Linked DNA regions of Homo sapiens: region 1 is linked to region 2. Evidence: promoter capture Hi-C in human tissues and cell types (Jung and others, 2019). All regions are on one chromosome and are shown on one strand. The core of a region is centred on a gene start or on the middle of the fragment in contact, and the rest is flanking DNA. Distances in the headings are between cores, read along the strand shown.

Region 1 (6,206 bases), core at 7-2,506, 150 kb before region 2:
ATCTGTGGGACTCATGGCAGTCTGTAATATGAAAGTCACATCTTTCTCCTGCACTGAGATCTGTGTTCCCCACCTTGCAGGTATATTTTTCACTGAATCCAGGTAGGATTTTACCCAAGCTATATCCTTGGATAAATAAATTGGCAAAATATATTTCATAAATATTTTTCTCTTTGTTTTGGAGATTTTTTTCCATAAGTGAAGGCCTCAATTGTCCATAACAGATTTTATTCTCCAGAGATCCATCAGACTCCTTTACATAGCTAACCCCTTTCCTTATATGTCATACGGTTACTTGATTTTCTCTTCTCCCACTCATTCTCTGATTTAACATCTCCTGTGATACTCACCCTGTGGTTTCTCTCCAAGGCTTTCACACACATTTTCAGTGAACAGTCCAGACTCTTGTGTGATGTTACTAATACCACTGCCTGTCCTTTGACCATGCTGAGTCCTTGGATGCTTCTTGACATAGAATGTCATAGAATGAAATTTCCTTAATTCTATTCACATTTCAGCCCATTGCAAGTTTTTTTGTCCTCATCTGTCATCTCATTGCCTTGTTCAATTATTCTAAAGAAGTGTATTGTGAGACTGATATATAGTAAAATATTTTTAGTGCATGTATAATAGAAAATAGTTTTATAAAATCACTTTTTTTAAAATTTTAGATTTGGTGGTACATGTGCTGGTTTGTTAATCGGTATCTTTCATGATGCTGAGGTTTAAGCTTCTAATGATCCTGTTACCCAAATAATGAATGTATTACCTGATAGATAGGTAGAAAATAGTTTTAGATTGAAAGCTGATTCTAGCTCATCTACGTCTTAACATAGACCAACTGTAAAATATATATAGAATGTATATACATTCCTGGAATACTTCTATAACTCCCATTCTTGAGGGCTGCTTACATGTCAAGCATGTTGCTTGCTATTTTCTGTCTGTTACCACCTTTTCTCCTGCGAGCACACTCACAGTATGATACTTTTCCCCAATTTACAGACAAAAATCTGAAACAAGAAGACCCGAGGCATTCAGTGATTTTCCCCAAGCATTGCCTAGGTACCGGCAGACCCTCAATTCTAACCAAGGTCTGACTGGTGCTTACTTCAGTACTTTTAATCACAGGCCAAGCAACTGAAACATTAACTCATTGTATCTCCAGGTCATCACCGAGTGGTCTTCTCACATCATCCTTCAGGCAGCACCAAGAGTCACTGGCAGCAGAGAGAGAGAGGCGGCGGCAGGAGAGAGAAGAAAGGTTGCAGAGAATAGAGCGGGAAGAAAGAAACAAATTCAGGTAAGAAGGATCTTAAGATTTTTTTTAAATAGTGAGTTAAAAATTAAAGGCATGTGACTTTACAACTGTATACATTTAATATTGGCATTAAAGGAAGTAATGAAAATTCTGTCTGTATTTTTAAGGAAGAGAAAGACATACCTGAAATAGGCTGGATCTGGTTTGTTATGGCTTTTGTTTCTCTAACCATATGGCAGGAAGCACAGTCAGCCAAATACAATTAGGGACTCATGTATTCTTGGGCCCTCCATTACCTACCTCGTCCTATCCAGGCCCTCCGGATGACAGAGAGTGTAATTATCTTAACTTAATTTGCCATCTCTTCCTAATGGTCCTCATGTTTTATTCATATTCTATCAGATGCCCAAAAAGAAATGCTTTTCCCACTTTCTGGTTTGCTTTTTGATCCCTGTAACAATCTTCAATATTTTTTGTAAACAATAATCTCTTGCTATGTGGGGGGAAAAGTCATTGTGTTGATTACTCTCAGCCCATTTCCCCCGATCTCCTGGTCTCTGTACAGCTTCAAGGATGTGTTCCTGGCTATAGCTCATTCCAGGTTCCATATCTTGGCCTGTCTGTCCCCACTGATCCCAGTGTGCCTCGGCTTCTCCTTCAGCCAGTCCACCTGTTCTCCACATTCTCCAGGTCATCCTCCTTCACACCCATCCCCTGGGCTTCATGCTGTGCTGTGCTTTATGGAATGAAAAACAGTTGCTGTATCTCTCCTTACACATTACTTCCTTCTCCTCTTCCTTATATCCTTTTTCCCTTTTCCCCCTTTCTTCCCCACCTCCTCCTATACTTTCTCTTCCTCCTTAATCCTTTGAAGTCATTTACCCTATAGCTTCTACATTCTTTCTTTTCATTTTTCTCCCCATCTCTACCTCCTGTTTCCTTAGTTCAGTTTCTTTGGCAAACAATATTCCCATCAATTATTCCCCATTATATCTACAAGGAATGTAAGGCATTGTTAATGAGGATTTACAGATTTAATAACGTGTTTTTGTTTTGTTTTGTTTTGTTTTTTGAGACAGAGTCTCACTTTGTTGCCCAGGCTGGAGTACAGTGGCGCAATCTTGGCTCCCAGCAACCTCTGCCTCCTGGGTTCAAGTGATTCTTCAGCTTCAGCCTCCCAAGTAGCTGGAATTACAGGCCACACCACCACGCCTGGCTAATTTTTGTAATTTTAGTAGACATGGGGTTTTACTGTGTTGGCCAGGCTGTTGAACTCCTGACCTCAAGTGATCCACCTGCCTCAGCCTCCCAAAGTGCTGGGATTACAGGCATAAGCCACCATGCCCAGCCAATAACTTGTGCTTTTCTGAAGCCAAGAAGTATATGTGTAATTGTAAAAATGATCAAAATATGAGCACAGTTGTGAAGTTGCTTAACTATAAGTCACTACTTCTTGAAAACAAATGCCAAGTCTTTGAAATGCTAATCCTCATTTTTCTAAGACTGGGTGAATGGGCTGCATGAAGTAAACCAACATCATTTCCCATCAAGATAGTGTAGCATACCCTCAGCTGTCACATTTCTACCAAACGATATTTGGAAATGCCAGCTCTGTATGCACCATTTTTCATGAGGGTAGTTCTGGAAGTTGTCACTTTTAGAAAGGCCAATTTTTTAAATCTCTGGAACAGGTTAAATGCTTCCTGATTTATGGTTTTCTGGGAGATTGGCATATTTTACCACCAAATAGCAGCAGAGAATCTGAGTGAAATACATGGAAAATTCAGAGATTAGCTTACATCCAAAGTGTTTTATTGAAAACCTCTTGAAACAGGGTGCTGGTTCTGGGGAAAATGGAATTCATTCACTCCATCCTGTCTCTCCTTCATTGCTGAATGCAACCATAAGTCATGGAGAGAATGTGTGAAACTCTGAAAACTCTGAAATATAAAAGAGAGCAGGTGAAATTAGGAAGGGAGACTAAAATTCAGTTTTACAAAACCAGTGAGAGTTTACCATTTTTTACCTTCACTATTACTTGGCATGTACTCAAAGGCACCCAAACCTAGAAGTGTATGTCAAATCTGGACCAAAAGAACCCCAGAAGAAGTCCTCTTTTTCCAGACCAAGGCACAGTAAAGGGAATTTCTAAAGATAAAAGTGTAGAGAATTCCTGTTATTTCTTTATCTCCTACCCTAGCCTCCCAAACAATATTGCTACAGAAGCACAGCAATGGCAGCAGTGTCCAGGCAGTTGCCTGAAATGGGAGAGAGGGGAACTCTTCCTCTGACCATAAGAGCTATGACCCCATGATCACTAGGCATATCACTTTGCTCTCCTCCTGCTATATTGTCCTAGATGCAGATGCAGTTACCAAAAGTATGCAGCAGGACAGGGAAAGTAAAGCCCAAGCCTTCTGGCTGGAGGACCATAAAAGGAAACCCAAGGAGCCAGAAAGTGTTAGGAAAGCCACAAAGAGCCAGGATATCAAGAGAGCACTCCTGAATGCATGTCTGATTTGTACACATGTGGCTTCAAACCTACATGGCATGCCATAGGCTTTGAGAACTAAGTACAGAGTGGGAGTGGATCACCACCCAGATCCCAGAAAACTGAATTAATATTGGAACCAATGTCTGAAGGCAGGTTACAACTTGCAGGTTGAACTTAACCCGGTTGATTACCTGCTAATACAAAATAAAACAAAAATCAAGATTCTTTGTAGAATTTAAATAAGACCTCAAATCTCATTACAAAATATGTAAAATGTACAGAATACAATCCAAAATAACTTATCATAAAAATAATTAGGAAAATTTTAACTCAAAGGGAAAAGAGAATTAAAAGATGGCTAACCACAAAGGACATAGATATTATACATTTAAAGACTTTAAAGTAGCTATTATAAACATGCTTTAGGAAGTAAGGGCAAATACTCTTGAAACAAATGAAAAGATGTCTCTGTAAAAAAAAAATAAAAGATATAAAGATCCAAATGGAAATATATATAGAACAGGAAAATTAAAATAGAAAATTTGTCAGATGGGCCAAATAGAATTGCTATGAGAGAAGAAAGTGAACTCATTGCTATGAGTGAACCTGAAGATAGAACAACAGAAATTTTCCTACCTGAAAACTAAACACAACAAACAAAAATTGAAAGAAAAATGAACAAAGCTGTAGGGACCTGCGTAATAACATCAAAATGTCTAGCATTCGTGTCATCGGAGTCCCAGAAGTATAGGAGAATAGGACAAGAGTGCATTGGTTTTTTTTGTTTGTTTGTTTCTTGAGACAGGGTGTCACTCTTTTGCCGAGGCTGGAGTGCAGTGTCACCATCTTGGCTCACTGCAGCCTCGACCTCCCAGGCTCAGGTGATCCTCCTACCTCAGCCTCCCAAATAGCTGGGACTACAGGCATGTACATGGGACTACTGGCTAATTTTTGTATTTTTTTGTAGAGATGAGGTTTCACTGTGTTGCCCAGGCTGGTTTTGAACTCCTGGGCTCAAGTGATCCTTCTGCCTCAACCTCTTAAAGTGCTAGACTTATAGGCATGAGCCATTGCACCTGCCCATGTGTTATAATATACAGGAATTATGTTATTCATATGTATATGTTGGCAGAGTAAGAATTAGGCCTGGAAAGGTTGTCATCAGAGGCCATGCTAATAACTGTTAACCATTTGCTCTTGATTTCAAGTGATTCTAACTTGTCATTTAAGAACACAGAGAGACCTTGGCAAAATGGCCCTCCTCCACTCATCCAAAATGAATGCTAATCAACCGTAGGCAACTACTAATTATGGTGACTGCAGTTCCATATTTCTGAGGATGTGAATGAAAAGAAATTCAAAAAATAAATAGGAAAAGCTTTCTAAAGTAGTTCCTGAGGTTACCCAAATGACTGACCTTTTATCAGCCATTTCATTGATTTAAATTGTTTATGCTCCTCGTGCTTTTTGCAAAGCATCTAAAAGTTGTTCTTTATCTATTGTCATTTTTGTTGAATATGGTCTTAAGCTTTCTGAGTTATAGGAAATTTAGTTCTAGTGTGGAAAGTGATGAGGTTGGATGTTTATAAACGATGACAAATCTGAGTCCTTGTTGCATTTTTCTCCCGGTCCTACACTGCTGTAGTCTAACTTACTGCCCCTTTATATCCAGTTATCAGTACACCAAGAAATAGAATATTTAAACTATATTATGAGGTCCAGTGTTGAAAACCATGATGTTAGGATTCTCCAAGAAAGTAAACAGTCCAGTGAGAGATGACTAACCACATAGTCTTAAACTTAGATTCAATTTGGAACCTAACCAGCAGGAACAGAAAAACAAAACATTAAAATTAAGAAAACAGCAGGAACAGAAAAACAAAACATAAAATTTGGGCATCTGTGGGTACAGACAAAAGAGAAGGAACAAAGCAGGAGCTTCAGTGATCCTAGAATAGAAACTGAGAATGTAATGGATGTGGAGAAGGAATCCTGGGTTGTCACTGTGGATGACAGTGTGGCGATTCCTCAGAGACCTAGAACCAGAAATGCCATTTGACCCAGCAATCCGATTACTGGGTATATACCCAAAGGAATATAAATCATTCTATCTTAAAGACATATGCATACGTATGTTCATTACAGCACTATTCACAATAGTAAAGACATGGAATCAACCCAAATGCCCATCAATTGATAGACTGGATAAAGAAAATATGGTACATATACACCATGGAATACTATGTAGCCATAAAAAGGAATGAGATCACATCCTTCGCAAGGACATGGATGGCACTGGAAGCCATCATTCTCAGCAAACTAATGCAGGAACAGAAAACCAAACACCACATGTTCTTACTCATAAGTGGGAGCTGAACAGTGAGAACACATGGACATAGGGAGGGGACCTGTGTCCATGTGTTCTCACTGTTCTGTGTGAGAACAACACAC
Region 2 (6,618 bases), core at 636-3,135:
CACAGCCTCCCCAGTAGCTGGAACTAAAGACATGGGCCACCATGCCCAGCTATTAATTGATTTTCATATGTTAAAACCACTCATTCCTAAATCACACTTGGTCTTGGACTTCTATTAAAAGAGACACAAATTTTAAAAATCAACCAAACAAATACATAATTTCAAGTAGTGAAAGTGCTATAAGAATAAAAGAAAAAGCAGGGTAAGGAAAGAGAGAGCAAGAAAGACGGCGGTTATTCGAACTATATTCAGGGAAGGTTTCTCTGAAATAATGACATTTGATCAGAGATCTGAATGACCTGAAGAAGCGAGACATTCAGAGAAAGATAATTCCAGGTGCAAGGACTAGCAAACTGCAAAAGCCCTGAAGCAGGAACCCGCTTAGTGTGTTTAAGGTACAGCTAGAAGGCCATGTGGGCAAGAGTGGAAACAAAGTCAGAAAGAGATGAGAGCAGATCTTACAGGGACTTGTGGGTCATGGTACAGACATTTGGATTTTATTATAATTGTGATGGGAAGGCACTGAAGCATGCTTTTCAGCCTTCTTAAAAGACCTTTCTCCTCCTTAGTTTTCTGGCTAACTCCTATATGTCTTTCAAAATCTAGCATCATCTCCTCTGTGACATGTTCTTTAACTTCCCTGGTAAGATCAGTCCCCTCCTCTGTGACATCTCTGAGTAACAGATTACTGACCTCTTTTCACACTCCTAGTGACCTCATTTGTTTATTTTTTTCACAGAACTGTGTCTTTTTCATATTTTTAACCTCACGTCTAACATAGTGGTGAGTACTAAAGAAACGTTTGATAGGCCAGGCGCGGTGGCTCACGCCTGTAATTCCAGCACTTTGGGAGGTCGAGGCGGGTGGATCACCTGAGGTCAGGAGTTCGAGACCAGCCTGGCCAACATGGTGGAACCCTGTCTCTACTAAAAATACAAAAAAATAGCTGGGCGAGGCAGGAGAATTGCTTGAACCCAGGAGGCGCAGGTTGCAGTGAGCCGAGATCGCGCCATTGCACTCCAGCCTGGGCAACAAGAGCAAAACTCTGTCTCAAAATACAAACAAGCAAGCAAACAAAGAAATGTTCGATAAAAGAAAAACTCTGAGTCATTCAGTGGTGCAAGGTTGGATTCCTTTCAGACCCGACGTAGTTGTCGCCCTGGGAGGTCGGGTGCATTACTTCCCCCAGAGAAAGGTCTTGGGTTTCGGGGATAATGCCCTGGCTGAGAATGCCTCCTAGGGGGAGATCCAACTTCCCAACCGTCAGGTGCTTGCTGTGTTCCCTTTGCACGTCTCTGCCCGTCCTTCCTGGGTGGGACCTTGGTTGGCGGTGAGTGGGGGAAACTTCAGGCTTCCCAGCTCTGCCTCCGAACACTCCTGGCAAACACTTTCAAGGCCTAATCACAAACCCAGGTCCCCCACTTTCCTCTGTAACAACGGAAGTCCCAGCAGCGATGTCCACTCCTGTTCTGGGGCCAGCGTCGCACCGCTCACCCCGCACCTCATCCCTCCGCTCCTCCTTCCTTCTCCTCCACACCCTCTCGGCACCGTGCCCCCTTTCCTCACCTAGGATGCGCGTGATGCCCAGGGTCAGCTTCTCCAGGTGCGGCTTGCTGCAGCCCAGCCCCGGGGACGATGCCTCCTCCTCCATGGCTCGCGACCGCGATTCGCGCGCGGCGGGAGCGGGTGGAGGGCCGGACCCCGCCTCAGCGCCGAGGCCAATTTCATGGCATGCCGGGAACGGTAGTTCTCGGCGCCTGAAAGCGCGGCGCAGTGATGATGGGGGCCCGGGGTTGGTCTGACAGCAGCAGCTCCGTGGGGCGCCGGTTCCCGCGGCCCCGCCCGGTGCCCCACACCGCACCTCCGGGACGTAGCTTCCCCTTCGCCCCCACCCTCTCGCCCCGCAGGGGCCGGCCGCGCAGGCGGGGGCGGGCCTCTGCGTGGTGCGGCCAATGGGGACCGAGCCTGCAGGCCGAGGCGTGGCGGCCCAGGCGCGACGCCCCGAGTGGCGGTTGTTTCAAGATGGCGGACGTGGCGGGCCCCTCCCGCCCCAGTGCCGCGGCGTTCTGGAGCCGGGACTGTATCCTTTGCCCGCCTGACAGGGGGCGCCGGCGCCCTCCACGGGACGGCGAGGGGCGAGCCGTCGCGTGGCAGTCCGAGAGCGGAGGAGAAGCTCCGAACTAACCCCGGGGATGGGGACGTGCTGCTCGGCCCCAGTCTAGGTGCTGGGCTCTCCCCTTGCTTGGGTGTTAGGTGGCCGAGAGACTGGTACTGTCTGCAGGTGTGGGGACACGGCTCAGATGCTTCCCAGCGCTCACTACCGGTGAGCTCGAGAAAGATAGCCTTGAGTCCAGGCTCAGTCCAGGGCTGAGATGGCCCTCCGAGGTCCCTCTGCCCACCCTGTCAGAGTGCCCCCAGGCTGACTTGAGTGTGCGGAGCTAGCTCGAAGTTGAGGGAGGAGTCGGTGTTGGCTGGACAGGGAGCCTTTTTGTTTTGATTTAGGATTGTCTTTAGTCTGCATTGCTAGGAGCAAGTCAGGACCTTTCGGACTTAAAAGGCCCTCCAGTGATGATGTATTTTAATACTGGGGTTTTAGGAGAGGTGTGGAGCTTGGTTACTGGGATGTGGTCTGGTGGTGCTGGTTACTGCGTAAGATGGGAATCATTGTGCCTGGAAGTATTGTTGACTTACTTGTGGAGTGCGGGTCACTGGCAGTCATTGAAGTTCTTGGATCGTTGTGAGGTGGAGAAGCAGTGGAACTTTTTAGTCCAGTGGTAGTATTACCAGTTCAGCAGCAGTGATGAGATGTTTGTGTGACAGGAGTGTTTCTTTCCTTGGAGTAGGTAGACTCTTCTCGCTTGAGCTTTGGTCCTGATAATTTACTTCACGTTCCTTAGAGGGGTTACTTGAAAGAGGGACGGCAATCTGTGTTACTGAGTGCTTGCAGAGGCAGCTCTTTTTGTGTTTGCTAGGATTGGTGATGGCATTAATTGAGGCGTTGCTGTTACCTTTGGCAGAATCACTGGGCATTCTTCTTAGCTCCCAGTGAAACTTACAAAACTGTGTTATCAACTCCTTTGTTGAGTTACTAGGATTAGTGTCATGTGTAGAGAGAGGGATATGTTTGTATTCTGTGCTGCTCGTGTTTAGTGTTTGCACTTACTAGACATAATTACCATTTGTCTCTGATAGGTTGGTGAAAAGCAAATGAAATCATGTACATACACTGTGGATGAAAGCATACTAGTGCAGTGTGCAAATTAAATATTTTTTCCTTTACCTTTCAGAAGAGAATATGTGCACTGTGGACAACTGGGCTGAATTAGGAAGTTAGGAAATTGGGATAAGTCTTTTCTCAAGAAACACTGCTTCTGCATTGACATAATTTTGTGATGGAGGAGATACTTGAAGGTTATTAGCTTATAGCATCCTATGGTACTGTTCAAATATAGAATCAATGGTTTGGGGGGGGGACAAGCTATTGCAATGGGACTGAATAAGTGTATTAATAGATATATGGACTGAACCTAAGCTCTTGGTCTTCGCACCCAGTACTTTCACTTACTCATGTAGTTATATCACCCCCTATTTTATGTAGAAGTCATATATACTCCGTTATCTCTTGTATTCTGACTCCCAACATTTAATGTAAAATATTCGTCCTCTCATAGATAGTGAGGAATTGAAATTGTACAGGGGAAAAATGGTGGCGATTATATCCTATAAGATCTAATTCAGATGTATGAAAGGAATTGCAAAGTTGCTAGTGTCACCTTTCCCCTCAGACTATTCCACGTAATGACCAGTTAACATCGAGCCTCAGATATTTTCATTTTAAATCTCCATAGAGAATGTCACTGTAAGCAATGTCAAATGTAAATTTGTTACTGAATATTTGCTGAAAAGCATAATGATAGTTATTAATCATTTGATTTAGTTACATGTCTTTGCATCTTGATTCCTTTGTCATATTGATTATTTCCCAGACCACCCTAGAGCCTTTATAGTAGAATTTTCAATAGAAAAAGACCAAAAAGTAAGTACCTATAATCTGGTATTCTTTTCACACTATTGAAAAAAGATTTTCAATACTTCACCTAAACATTTAGAGAAATGTGATGGAGAGATTTCTTAGTCCTTGATGTTTCCATCATGAGAGGACAGATCATCTGTGACTCAATGGCACCTTTTTTTTTTATTGTTGTTGTTGTGAGTTATACATCTCCTGCACAGTATGATTCAGCAGTGCTGTTTTGCACAAGGAACGTTTTAGTACCTCATCTGTAAACAATGAGTGTGTGGTGTTGTCATGTTATGGGTTAAATCTTCCAGCAAAATATGCTCCTTCAGTTTAAGTTGCCTTTGTCCTTCATTACAGTTCCTAGTAATGTCAGAATGAGTTAGTGTTTCAGCAGTACCTAAATTTGACTGCTTAAATGCACTCAAGTGTATTACCATTAGCAATATCATGGACTTGATATTAAAAAATATGAACTGCAAGTGACCTGGTCAAAACATTGCAGTATAATCTCTGCTGTTGAGTTTTCAAATGGAAACAAAGACTGTATGTTGTGGTAAAAATAATATATTAGCCCAGAAAGTCTCTGTGGTTGATAATAATTACATATACATGTATTGCTGGCAAAACTCAGCAGATTAGAGTAGAATGGGCAGTACTGAACTTATTTCCTTCAAATCCTGGAGGTCTGGGATAGAGGTGCATCTTCCTCTCTACCACTTCTGCCTGGGTTTCTAATTACAGTTAGCCCTCTGTATCTGCTGATTCATTCAAATGTGGATGGAAAATATTTGAGAAAAAAAAGAAATAGCACACAAAAAAATACAAATTAAACTGTACAATTTAACTACTATTTATATAGCATGTACATTGTTTTAGGTATTATAAATAATCTAGAAATGACCCACTAGTAGGCCCACTATACATTTGGTATATAATGTGTCTGTTTGACTTCCCCATAAAATATACATTTGTTGGGAAATTCTAGATTTGAAGGAGGTAAATATTTGGGTTCTTAATATAATGAGATGAAAATACATTACAAATTATTAGAAAGGATAGAGGCAATTTCAAATATTGTTATTAAAAATATTGAAGTAGTTTGTTTAGAGTTTTATATATTTGAAAATAAATTTGTCATGGATGTAGCTGAAAGTAAAAGGTTTTGTTGGCCGCTTGCGGTGGCTCACACCTGTAATCCCAGCATTTTGGGAGGCCAAAGCAGGTGGATCACAAGGTCAGGAGTTCAAAACCAGTCTGGCCAACATGATGAAACGGCCGTCTCTACTAAAACTACAAAAAAAATTAGCCAGGTGTGGCGGCGGGCACCTGTAATCCCAGCTACTCGGGAGGCTGAGGCAGAGAATTGCTTGACCTAGGAGGTGGAGGTTGCAGTGAGCTGAGATCAAACCGCTGCACTCCAGCCTGGGTGGCAGAGCGAGACTCTGTCTCAAAAAAAAAAAAAAAAAAAAGTTTTGTTTGCATATTTAGAATCACAGAAATATAACATATAAGGTTGTTGGACAACACCTCATAAAATTAAATCAATACCAATTTTATTCTTTCATAGATGGAGCCAGACATTCTTTTATGTTTGAGGGTACAACACTGAACAAAATAAAACAAAAATCATTACCCTCTTGGTGCCTACATTTTAGTGAGATGAGATCAGGTCATGAATAAGGAAAATATATGTTCAATGATTTTTTTTTTTTTTTTTGAGTCAGAGTCTCGGTCTGTTGCCCAGGCTGGAGTGCAGTGGTGCCATCTCAGCTCACTGCAAGCTCCGCCTTCTGGGTTCACACCATTCTCCTGCCTCAACCTCTGGAGTAGCTGGGACTACAGGCACCCGCCACCATGCCCGGCTAATTTTTTTTTTTTACATTTTTAGTAGAGACAGGGTTTCACCGTGTTAGCCAGGATGATCTCGATTTTCTGACCTCGTGATATGCCCACCTCGGCCTCCCAAAGTGCTGGGATTACAGACGTGAGCCACTGCACCTGGCCTATGTTCAATGATATTGGTGCTGTGGAGAAAAAATAAAGCAGGAAAGAGGCAGATAGTAGCGGGAGGTAGGTAGGTTGTGGGAAGAGAGAGTTTTGCAATTTCAAGTACCTATATGGTTAGGAAGTGAAAGCTTCAATCAGAAGGTGACATGACATGACATATGACATAAGTCCTAAAGTGAGCCATGAAGATATTTGAGGAAAGAGCTTCCTGGGTAGAAGAAATCATACCTGCAGAAGCTATAAGGTAGGAGCTTGCATAGCTTGTTAACAATTATAAGAAAGCCAGGAATGAGTGAGAGGAATAGTAGCAAGTGAGATCAGAGATGTAACAAGTTACAGGGATCAGATCTTGAGCATTGCAGGCTGTTGTTAATACTTTGGCTTTTAATCTAAATTAGAAATGACATAACTATTAAAATGATCATTCTAACCACTGTGTGAAAAAATAGGCTGTTAAGGGAACATGCACAGAAGTGACAGAGAGCAGTTAGGAGCTTATTGCAATAATCCTGGGAGAGGAAAAGTTGAGTTGGATCAAGGTGACAGTTGAAAACAGTGTGTTATAATCATAGCCTTTCTAAATTTCTCCT

What was found. Contacts are between HindIII fragments. The study calls those that stand out against the background at their distance.
Region 1: a fragment that was not itself captured here is called in contact with the fragment with the promoter of TPGS2 in region 2 in 1 of the 25 tissues and cell types used here (aorta).

Annotation. Positions count from the first base shown.
Region 1 is chr18:36,680,268-36,686,473 of GRCh38, forward strand. FHOD3 (formin homology 2 domain containing 3) reads left to right here. Exons shown (of 29, transcript NM_001281740.3): 15 at 1,169-1,303. Among named protein-coding and RNA genes, the nearest start is that of TPGS2, 150 kb to the right of the region's middle. The HindIII fragment of the contact is 3,349 bases long and covers 1-2,931 here.
Region 2 is chr18:36,827,117-36,833,734 of GRCh38, forward strand. It overlaps TPGS2 (tubulin polyglutamylase complex subunit 2), which reads right to left and starts at 1,886. Exons shown (of 7, transcript NM_015476.4): 1 at 1,567-1,886. The coding sequence starts at 1,651. It overlaps KIAA1328, which reads left to right and starts at 2,011. Exons shown (of 10, transcript NM_020776.3): 1 at 2,011-2,080. The coding sequence starts at 2,023. RefSeq lists enhancers at 1,246-1,355, 1,456-2,248 and a silencer at 1,646-2,245. The HindIII fragment of the contact is 11,405 bases long and covers 1-6,618 here.